Linked DNA regions of Homo sapiens: region 1 is linked to region 2. The links are contacts of gene promoters, found by promoter capture Hi-C in blood cells and fetal thymus (Javierre and others, 2016). All regions are on one chromosome and are shown on one strand. The core of a region is centred on a gene start or on the middle of the fragment in contact, and the rest is flanking DNA. Distances in the headings are between cores, read along the strand shown.

What was found. Contacts are between HindIII fragments. The CHiCAGO score rates a contact against its expected background, and 5 or more counts as called.
Region 1: a fragment that was not itself captured here is called in contact with the fragment with the promoter of OR1G1 in region 2 in 1 of 17 cell types (M0 macrophages); the score reaches 5.0 in M0 macrophages.

What each region holds. Positions count from the first base shown.
Region 1 is chr17:3,643,003-3,648,273 of GRCh38, forward strand. CTNS (cystinosin, lysosomal cystine transporter) reads left to right here. Exons shown (of 12, transcript NM_004937.3): 4 at 4,442-4,520. LOC105371493 (a long non-coding RNA gene) reads right to left here. Exons shown (of 6, transcript XR_007065579.1): 5 at 1,959-2,173. Among named protein-coding and RNA genes, the nearest start is that of CTNS, 8.9 kb to the left of the region's middle. The HindIII fragment of the contact is 2,739 bases long and covers 2,458-5,196 here.
Region 2 is chr17:3,124,656-3,129,771 of GRCh38, forward strand. It overlaps OR1G1 (olfactory receptor family 1 subfamily G member 1), which reads right to left and starts at 2,896. Exons shown (of 1, transcript NM_003555.1): 1 at 1,955-2,896. The coding sequence starts at 2,896. The coding sequence ends at 1,955. The HindIII fragment of the contact is 3,090 bases long and covers 842-3,931 here.

The sequences.
Region 1 (5,271 bases), core at 2,577-5,076, 520 kb after region 2:
ATGTAAAATAGGAATAATAATGCCTACCTCGGCCTGGCGCGTTGGCTCACGCCTGTAATCCCAGCCCTTTGGGAGGCCAAGGAGGGTGGATCACAAGGTCAGGAGATCGAGACTATCCTGGCTAACATGGTGAAATCCCGTCTCTACCAAAAATACAAAAAATTAGTCGGGCGTGGTGGCGGGCGCCTATAGTCCCAGCTACTCGGGAGGCTGAGACAGGAGAATTGCTTGAACCCGGGAGGCAGAGGTTGCAGTGAGTCGAGATCGTGCCACTGCACTCCAGCCTGGGCGACAGAGCAAGACTCTGTCTCAAAAACAAAAAAAAATGCCTACCTCTCACTTTTGTAATAATTAGAAAATGGGAGCTCGGTGTATAGCAGAGTAGCTGGTATTGGGTAGGTGCAGAGTGGGAGAGAGGCCTATAAGAATTAATTTTAAAAACCTGGCCAAGCATGGTGGCTCATACCTGTAATCCCAACACTTTGGGAGGCCAAAGAGGGAGGATCACTTGGGCACAGGAATTTGACACCAGCGTGAGCGACATAGTGAGACCCCATCTCTACAAAAAAAAATTTTTTTTTAAACGGATTCTCACTCAGTTGCACAGGCTGGAGTGCAATGTGGCGTGATCTCAGTTCACTGCAACCTCTGCCTCCCGGGTTCAAGCGATTCTAGTGCCTCAGCCTCCCAAGTAGCTGGGTTTGTAGACGTGCGCCACCACATCCGGCTAATTTTTGTATTTTCAGTGGAGACAGAGTTTCACCATGTTGGCCAGGTTGGTCTCAAACTCCTGACCTCAAGTGATCTGACCGCCTCAGCCTCCCAAAGTGCTGGGATTACAGGCGTGAGCCACCGCACCCGGCCAAAAATTTTTTTTTAATTAGCTGGGTGTGGTGGTGCATGCCTGTGTTCGTAGCTACTGAGGTGAGAGGCGGCAGTGGTGGGAGGATGGCTTGAGCCTGGCGGGGTCAAAGCTGCAGTGAGCCATGATCACTCTCTTTAGGAGGAACTCAGGATGGTGTTGTGACTCATTTTGTAAATCTGATACAATGTAAAGATTTTAGACTTGGGGGGCCAGCTTCCTAACTGCCTCCCACCTTGGGCTAAAAATATCCTGCAGTTATCATGTGATGATAATAATAGTAACAATTATTTAGCATCTGGGCTTTGTGGAAAACATGTTACAAACATTGCTACATTGTATCTTCACCATGACTCATTCAGATAGGTCTTGGTATTCTCCCCACTGTACAGATAAGGAAATGGAGGCTCAGAGAGGGTAAGTACCTTACCCATGGTCACACAGCTAGGAAGTGTCAGAGCCAGGATGGAACTGCGTGACTTTGGAGCCCAATATCTCAGTTGCTGAGCACCTCAGTTTTCTGTGGTGCTAAAGAAGGAGGGAATAAACATTCTCTGGTCTGGTTCTTGGAGTGTTCACAAACTCCTATTTTATTTTTTTATTTTATTCTATTTTGTTGAGACGGAGTCTCACTCTGTCACCCAGGCTGGAGAGCAGTGGCGCAATCTCAGCTCACTGCAGCCCCCGCTTCCTGGGTTCAAGTGATTCTCTTGCCTCAGCCTCCCGAGTAGCTGGGATTACAGGCGCCTGCCATCACGCCCAGCTAATTTTTTGTATTTTTAGTAGAGACAGGGTTTCACTATGTTAGCCAGGATGGTCTCTATCTCCTGACCTCGTGATCCACCTGCCTCGGCCTCCCAAAATGCTGGGATTACAGGCCTGAGCCACCGCGCCCGGCCTAATTTTTTGTCTTTTTGGTAGAGATGGGGTTTCGCCATATTGGCTAGTCTGGTCTCCAAATCCTGACCTCAGGTGATCCACCTACCTCGGCCTCCCAAAGTGTTAGGATTACAGGTGTGAGCCGCTGTGCCCGGCCCTCAACCTCCTATATGCAAAGATTGTAGGAGCTCTGTAGCCATGTAGATCTCCCACTCACCTTGACCTCCACTACCTCTGGCAGAGCCCTAGGGATCCAGAGTCTGGCTGGCCGCCCAGCATCACTTTCAGCATCCTGTCCTGAGCAGTGGCTGGTTGTGGGACTTGCTTATCTGGCATGGTCCTCAGCTCTAGGCAGAATTGAACTGGTGGTACAGGAAGTCCCAGCTATGCAAGCCCAGAAGAAATCCTCAGAATGACCTCAGAACAGTGAGCCTGAAAAAGAAGGGCAGACTCGCCACAGCGGCTTCCAGGCTCTGAGGCTCCACATAAGGAAGGGACTGCCTTTTGCCGCTCTGAGCACCTTGGCCTCTGCAAGGGCCAGGGGACATCCTGTTCTGAGGAGCCCAGCCAGCCAGCAGGGGACTGGAGATTGTGGACTGTGGGGACCTACGGACTTGGGACAGAGCTTCCATCTGTATTCACATGTGCTGAGCATGGAGAAGGCAGCTCTCAGGGTCTGAGAGGCTCTGGGTAGCAGAGCCTGGCCTGGCAGGGCAAGCTTCAGGCTGTGATCTCCTTAGAGGAGACGAGGTTACAGAGGAAGAGAAACTACCAGGTAGGAGTATTGAGGCGGAGAATCAGAGGTCAAATTGGGTAACTTTAAGTTTCCTTCCGGGCCAGGTATGGTGGCTCACACCTGTAGTCCCAGCGCTTTGGAAGGCCAAGGCAGGCAGATCACCTGATGTCAGGAGTTCAAGACCAGCCTGGCCAACATGGTGAAACCTCATCTCTACTAAAAATACAAAAATTAGCCAGACGTGGTGCTGCATGCCTATAATTCCAGCTACTTGGAAGGCTGAGACAGGAGAATCACTTGAACCCAGGAGGCAGAGGTTGCAGTGAGCAAAGATCATGCCACTGCACTCCAGCCTGGGCAACAAAGCGAGACTCTGTCTCAAAAAAAAAAAAAAAAAAAAGTTTCCTTCCAACCCAAGCGTCTAAAATTTCAGATCTCAATTCATCTGCCTTTGAGGGGTCTGAGTGACAGGGTCTGGGTGGGGGGAACTGGGCCTGGGGGGTCTGAGTGACGGGGTCTGGGTCGGGGAACCGGGCATGCTGGCAGCCTCTGCCGTTGCAAAGACGCTCCTCATCACAGTCATGCACCTGCTTCCCCGCCCGGCCTAGAGTCATGACCATAACCCCAGGCTGTGTGTAACCCTGAAGGCAATCAGGCAGGGGAAGTGAGATGGCAGGTGTGGCATGAGCCTTCCAGTACCCCTGGGAGCAGAGGCTGGGACGGGGCTGCACAAAGAATACAGGAAGCACACAAAGAGAGGCTTACTCAGTCCGGTGCTCTGGGCTAGTTGGCCTTGCAAGAGGGTTTTCTTTCTTTTTTTTTTTTTTTTGAGATGGAGTCTCGCTCTGTTGCCCAGGCTGGAATGCAGTAGCGATCTCAGCTCACTGCAACCTCTGCCTTCCAGGTTCAAGCAGTTCTCTGCCTCAGCCTCCAAAGTAGCCGGGACTACAGGTGCATGCCACCAAACCCAGCTAATTTTTTGTATTTTTAGTAGAGACAGGGTTTCACCATGTTGGCCAGGACGGTCTTGATCCTCTGACCTCGTGATCCACCTGCCTCGGCCTCCCAAAAGGCTGGGATTACAGGCATGAGCCACCACGCCTGCCCAGTTTTCTTTCTTTTTTTAAGAAAATATTCTGTAGAAACAGAGTCTTTCTGTGTTGCCCAGGCTGATCTCCAGCTCCTGGGCTCAAGCAGTCCTCCCGCCTTGGCCTCCCAAAGCGCCAGGTTTCTAAGCGTGAGCCACCACGCCCAGCCCCACGATGGTTTTCTAAGACCCTAAGACCCAGATCTGCTTCTTCCCTCATCTGGGGGCCTGTTTGTCAACTTGATTCTGAGTTAACAGCTTAATGCCAAGAAGAAATCTCAGAGTGAAACAACTATTCACCCTTCCTCCTCCAGTACCCCGCAGATAGTCAGCCCCAGGAAGGGGACCAGTGCCAGGGTGAGCTGGGTTGGGAAGGGACCCCAAAGGGCTCCTTAGAAACTCATTAGCTGGGCCCATGTGTCTCTCTGAGAGTGCAGGAAAGGGGCTGGCCCAGTTCTTCAGGACCATTTTGACTTCATGAACAGAGGAGACCCCTGTGCTTTCATCTGAAGAGGTGGTTCACGGCTGCCTTTTACGCTCCCAGGTCACGCTGGAATTCCCCTGTAATGATTTTTGGGCTCCATGGTTCTCTAACAATCTCTGGTTAACTCAGCCGCAGACTCTCAGAGCCTGTCATCGCAGCGGGAGGAGGACGCTCCGGCGTTTCCTGCTCAGGCCTGTTTTCCTCCATCTCTGTCTCTGGCAGCAGGTGGGGAAGGAAGCTAACCAGGGCCTGTGTTTGCAGTCCCATCACAGAATAGGGCTCGTCAGAGAGTCAGAGCTCAGGAGTTCAGATGTCAGGGGTTTCGGCCCAGTTTTCTGTCACAGGCCTGAACTCTGACCCAGTGCCTCATGTCATTGATTTGGGTCCTTCCAGAGTCAAGCGTCAGCCTCACTGTTCCTCCTGTCGTAAAGCTGGAGAACGGCAGCTCGACCAACGTCAGCCTCACCCTGCGGTAAGTTCCTGGGCCTGGCGCTGTGCTCAGCTCCGCTCAGGCCCCGCAGCTGGGTCAGGGCTGACCCCTGGCTCAGTCTGTTCAGATTTCAGATGCGCTATTCTTGCCTCTTACCTGTAAGACAAGCCCTAGAAAAAGGGATGGTGCTAGCCCCGGGCTGCAGGATGGGATCGCAAAGGCTGACCCCCACCCTGAGTCCTCACTTTCCCTGGCAGGAGAAGGAAGGGGTGCTTCTCCCAGAGACGTGCGTCTTTTCCCCGCATGGGAAGAGTCCTGTGTGACCGGTGTTGAGGCCAGATTTCAAAGCGATTCTTTCTAAGACTAAGTATTTGAAGAGAGCCCTGAAGGTCAAGGGGCAGGGAGCTGAGCTGCTGGTTGGCACTTCTGAGGTTGCTTTCAGAAGCAGGAGTGGCCACGTCGGGTGAATGCCGCTCATGCTGGGCCTTGTCTGGGAGTCTCACTTGCTGCCACCTGCTGGCTTAGGCACAAACGTCGCGACCTAGTCCAGTCTGTGCCAGGGAGGCTGCCTCTGCCTTCTCTGCTCTTAGCTGCTTTGTCCTTCCCTTGCCTCCCAGCCGTGAGGATTCCCTGATGAAGAAGACCTAGAACCCTCTCCTTCTCTCTTTATGCCTTTCCCCCTTCCTCGCCTCTCCTGCGAGATCTGGCCTGAAAGCAAAGCTTTGGTTCCGAGGCCCCTAGCAGGCCTGCCATTCCGCTCCCAGCTCCTTCTGTCTCTGCACACCCTCCCCCT
Region 2 (5,116 bases), core at 1,646-4,145:
AATAAAAAAGAAATGTTCTTCAGCCGTTTAGCCAAGTGGATCCTGTGACCCCCAGGGTGTAAGGCCCAAGGTGGGCTGCCTTATAGGGTCTCTCAGCTGTAGTGTAAGTGGAGTACCTGCATGTGAGACTCATTCCCCCTGTGCAGCTTTTCTGAGCCTTGGGGGACCAGCTCGAGGTGAATCCTAGGCGTCTGTTGTTCCTTGCTGCCTATCTGTGAATAATAAACGTGCTTGATGTCACTTGTTGTCTGTGTGGGTGTTCTGTTTCACTCGACTCGGACAAGTTGGTAACCGGTGCACAGTGAACCTGCTTCAGAGCTTCTACCTCAATGGCTGACACCGATTGAAAATACACTACGTACTAGGAGTTAACCCTGTATGTGTATTTATGCACATTTCATTTAATTATCACAGAGAATGCTTTACATATATTATCATATTTAAACTTACAACACAATGAGGTAGGCTTTTTCTTTTTTTTTTTTTTTTCCAAACATTAAATAATTTCCTAGGATCACACAGCTTAAACGTGGCAAAGCCGGGGTTTGAACTTGATTCCACAGCGTCCACGCTGCTTACCACTTTGCTCTACTACCTTTTATTATCAGACGATCGTGTCTGGGCTTCAGATAAGGTGAATAGGGAGCTGGTGAGCTAGAATTGCTATTATCTACAGCAATTACCATCTATGGCACAGCAGCCTGCAGTCAGATACCTGAAGGTAAACAGACAACAAGAATGAAAAACAGCACCCAGTTGTGACATTTTATTTTCCTATAGAAACGTATTGGTTGTGGCTGTAACGTACTGTACAGAGTCTTGCCACAACGTCTACTGACAAAGCTTTCCAAGTCGTTTTTGGCAACCATGCACAATAATCAATGTATTCTGAAACCGTTGGCCTGAGTTGACCTTGGGAGAAATACGGAAGAGTGTGGTTAACTGTGGACATCAGTTATGAACTGGTGGCACTGGGCTCGCATGCTACGGTAAACAGCTGGAAGTTGATTCTGCAGGCAGTTTCAAGCCACTGGACATTTCTCTTAGTGATATAATGGTACCCTATGAAGATTAATCTGATTATGGTGTACAGAGTTGATGGAAGGCGGGTAGACTGAGGACTGAAGACCAACTAGGAGGAGGCTTTAATCATTCAGGCAGGAGAGCATAAAGTGTCCATAAAAATCATTCTTTTCCCCTAACTTTAAGTTGTAACCATTTCAGTGGGATTCAGCACCTATCAATGGTACCAGGCATTACGCCATGTGGTAAGCATTGGGGCTGCAGAGATGAAATGAGTGTGGAAAAAATTGCCCTGAAGAGGAACCTGAGGTTTTCACATGAAGTCTAAGGTGGCAGGAGGATTATGGGTCTTGGAGGCCTGGTAAGACACTGCAGTGAGTCTGTCTGAAGATGCCATCTCCATCAAGCCCTTCCTAGACCCAGTTCCTCATCACTGAGCATGGGAGCATCACAGATACGGGCAGTGCCTGTGGCAGAAACACTGTGGGTGGGGATCCGAGTGATCAGGATCACAGTGATGCTGGGGGAAGGTCGTCCTTCCCTGAATTTTATTCTTGGCCCTATACAACAGCCCAGCCAGATATTCCCTTATTTCAGTCATGAGCTGTCCCATGTTGTTTAAAAAGCATTAACTAATAACATTATTAAATCATCAATATTATTAACTATAGTAAATATAATAAGGCATGACATTATATTATACATCTGGATGGCTGTGGTTTTAGAACATAATTGTAAGAACTTCACCTGTGACATTGGCCTGATGATGGGTTATGATGCAGTCCTGTAGCTTAGACATGAATATTTCAGGTTCAGATCGTAGGTACTGGAACAGAGGTCTCTAGATTCTCTCCATCTTTCATTCTTCACTGCTTACTGTGGTGAACGCAGGTGCATGGAGACCCCCATATTGGATGTCAAGTCACTACCACTAAGGGGAATGAATTTTCCGAACCCAGATTAACTTTCTCAGGGAAGACTTTATTTCTTGGTTCCTCAAACTGTAGATAAAGGGATTCAACATTGGAGTTACCACTGTGTACATCACTGATGCAACTGTGTCCTTCTGGGCCGAGTGGGTTGAGGGAGAACTGAAATCAACACAAAAAGAAGTCCCAAAGAAGAGAGAGACCACGGAGAGATGAGAGCTGCAGGTGGAAAAGGCTTTCCGCTTCCCCTGAGCTGATGGGATCTTCAGGATGGTCGAGAAAACGTTCGTGTAAGAGATAATCAGGCAAAGCACACAAATGAGTCCTGTGAGACCCCCAGTGATGAAGATCACCAGCTCATTGGTGAAGGGGTCTGTGCAGGACAGACTCAGGAGGGGATTGATGTCACAGAAGAAGTGTGGGATCTCATGGTTTGCGCAGAAGGACAGGCTGTTCATCAGAAGTGTGTGTAGAAGGGAGTGGAGGGCATTCATGATCCAGGATGCAGACACGAGGAAGATGCAGAGCCCAGGGCTCATGATCAGAATGTAATGAAGTGGGTGGCATATGGCCACGTAGCAGTCATAGGCCATGACCGCCAAGAGGAATGCCTCCAGCATCACAAATAACATGAAAAAATACAACTGTAGTAGACACCCTGAGTAGGAGATGGCCTGACTCTGGATCTGTATGTTTGCCAGCATCTTAGGGACTGTGGTGGACACAAAGCAGGCATCTGCAAGGGAGAGGTTGGCTAGAAAGAAGTACATGGGGGTATGGAGTTGAGTGTCAGTAATGATGACTAGAATGATGAGGAGGTTGCCTGCCACCGTGACCAAGTACATGAACAGGAAGGACCCAAAGAGGGGCTTCTGCTCCTCCAGCTGCTCAGAGAACCCCAGGAGGAAACATTCTGAGATGCTGGTCAGATTTTTCCCCTCCATTTGTCTGTAGGAAGAAAGTTGGGTTAATTGGGTGACGTTGGTAAGCCCTGGATTGTGAACTCTGAAAATTATGCAATATTCCAGTGTTGATCTTCTAGTGTGAGGTTGGATCATAGGAAATCTCCACTATTTGACTCTTTGGGACCTGCAAAAATGGCCATTTCATAGGGTTCGACTAAATATTTGCAAATTCCTGTGCTTGGTGCTATGAGAAACCACAGATTTGTTTGTAATGCAATGAGAGGCTTTTAAATTTATTCCATAAGCATTAAGCCAATATGTGTATTTTGGGGCTGGGCTGGAGGGGCTTGCTGGCTTTGCTCTGGTAGTGTTCATGTAGAAACTATGACATTTATACAACCCAAGATTTTACAGGTCAAATGAGCCCATTGTACCAATAATTAAAAAGACAGCTCCTGGAAAGGGGTTTTGGAATTGGGAAAAGCATGGCTAACATGGAAATCATTATCACTGTTATCTACACAGCGGGTCTGGCCAGAAACCTGAGCGTCATTATTGACCCACGTTTCTCCCTCCCTGCCTACATCCAACCACCACCAAAGCCTGGCAATTTTACCTTCTCAATATGGCTACAATTTACTGACGTCTCTCTGTTTACTGGTCACCATCAGTCCCAGCTGCAGCTCATGTCATTCAGGGCACTGTGATTTCTCACTTGGATTTGGGCAGTTGATCTCCATGCCCCCAGGTATGCCCACCTGCCACCTGCTGTTCTAAATACACAGAGAATAGGCTTGCTAAAAATCAAATTCGACTCTTGTCTTTCTGCTTGAAAAATCCTTCATACACTCCTCATTACTCCCAGGATAAACTCTAAACTGAACACGGCTGAATGTCCTGGATCTTACCGTCATTTATTACAGACATCCCCAGTTCCTCATGAAACTCCCTCCTCCACTCCACACTTTATGCACTAATCATAGTTTCAATTATTTTAAAGGCCCAGATACTCCCTCACCTTTAGGCTTTCTCAGGCTGAAATAGTTTTTCCCATCCCATTTATCAGACGAGCTAAGCTTCAGGTCTCACCTTAGATGTCACCTCTTCTGGGAAGTCTTTCCCAACTCATCCTCTCACCAGAAACTCAGGTTCGTGACCTTCCTAATGCAGTGCCTCCCCCATCACAGCACGTGTCACCTTGGATTCTGAGTGTCTGTTTATATGAGTGTCCCTCATTCTGCTGTGAGCATCACTGGGAGTAGGCAGAGATGGTGCCTAATTGGCTCAGCTTTGAAATCTAGCATTAGCCTTGAGGCTGGTACAACACAGATGCTCAGTATGAATCTATCATGTAAATACATAAACCCCAGAGAATGGAAAGAGTGGGAAGAATGGAAAGGGGCTTTGCTATAGAGGTAATATCAGGCATAAGAATTAGCCTGAACCTTTATTATTATTGTTATGATTTTTGAGATGGAGTCTCACTCTGTCACCCAGGCTGGAGTGCAGTAGCACGAACTCAGCTCACTGCAGTCTCCACCTGCTGGGCTCAAGTGATTCCCTTGTCTCAGCCTCCTGAGTAGCTGGGATTACAGGCCACTGCTACCACACCTGGCTATTTTTTTTTTTTTTTTTTTTGTATTTTTAGTAGAGATGGGGTTTCATCACATTGGCCAGGCTGGACTTGAACTCCTGACCTCAGGTGACCCACCTGCCTCGGCCTCCCAAAGTGCTGGGATTACAGGCATGAGCCACCACACCCAGCCAACCTTTTTGTTAGTAGGTTCAGTGGTAGCTTTGAGTTAATGGAGTCCTGGCCATAGGAATATGTAGGGAAACACTACGGTTACAGAGAGATAAGTGTTCCAAACAAATGCATTCTTTCTAGGTGAAATTCTTGGGATGGAACAGTGTTTCAGCTGAGTGATTAACCCACGGAATCAGTTTCCCTGTGCCGCTTTTTTTTACCTTCAGAGTTTAATATAACCTATGGATTTGTAAGCCTTAGTTACGTACACTAAAATTACTACTTACTAGGCAATAGTGGCATCTTATGTCTTATTCTCTCTCTGACCATGGATATTTCTTATTTATTTATTTTTGAGACGGAGTCTCACTCTGTCACCCAGGCTGGAGTGCCGTGGCAGAATCTTGGCTCACTGCAACCTCTGCCTCCTGGGTTCAAGCAATTCTGCTGCTTCAGCCTCCCAAGTAGCTGGGACTACAGGCACACGCCACCACACCCGGCTATTTTTTTTT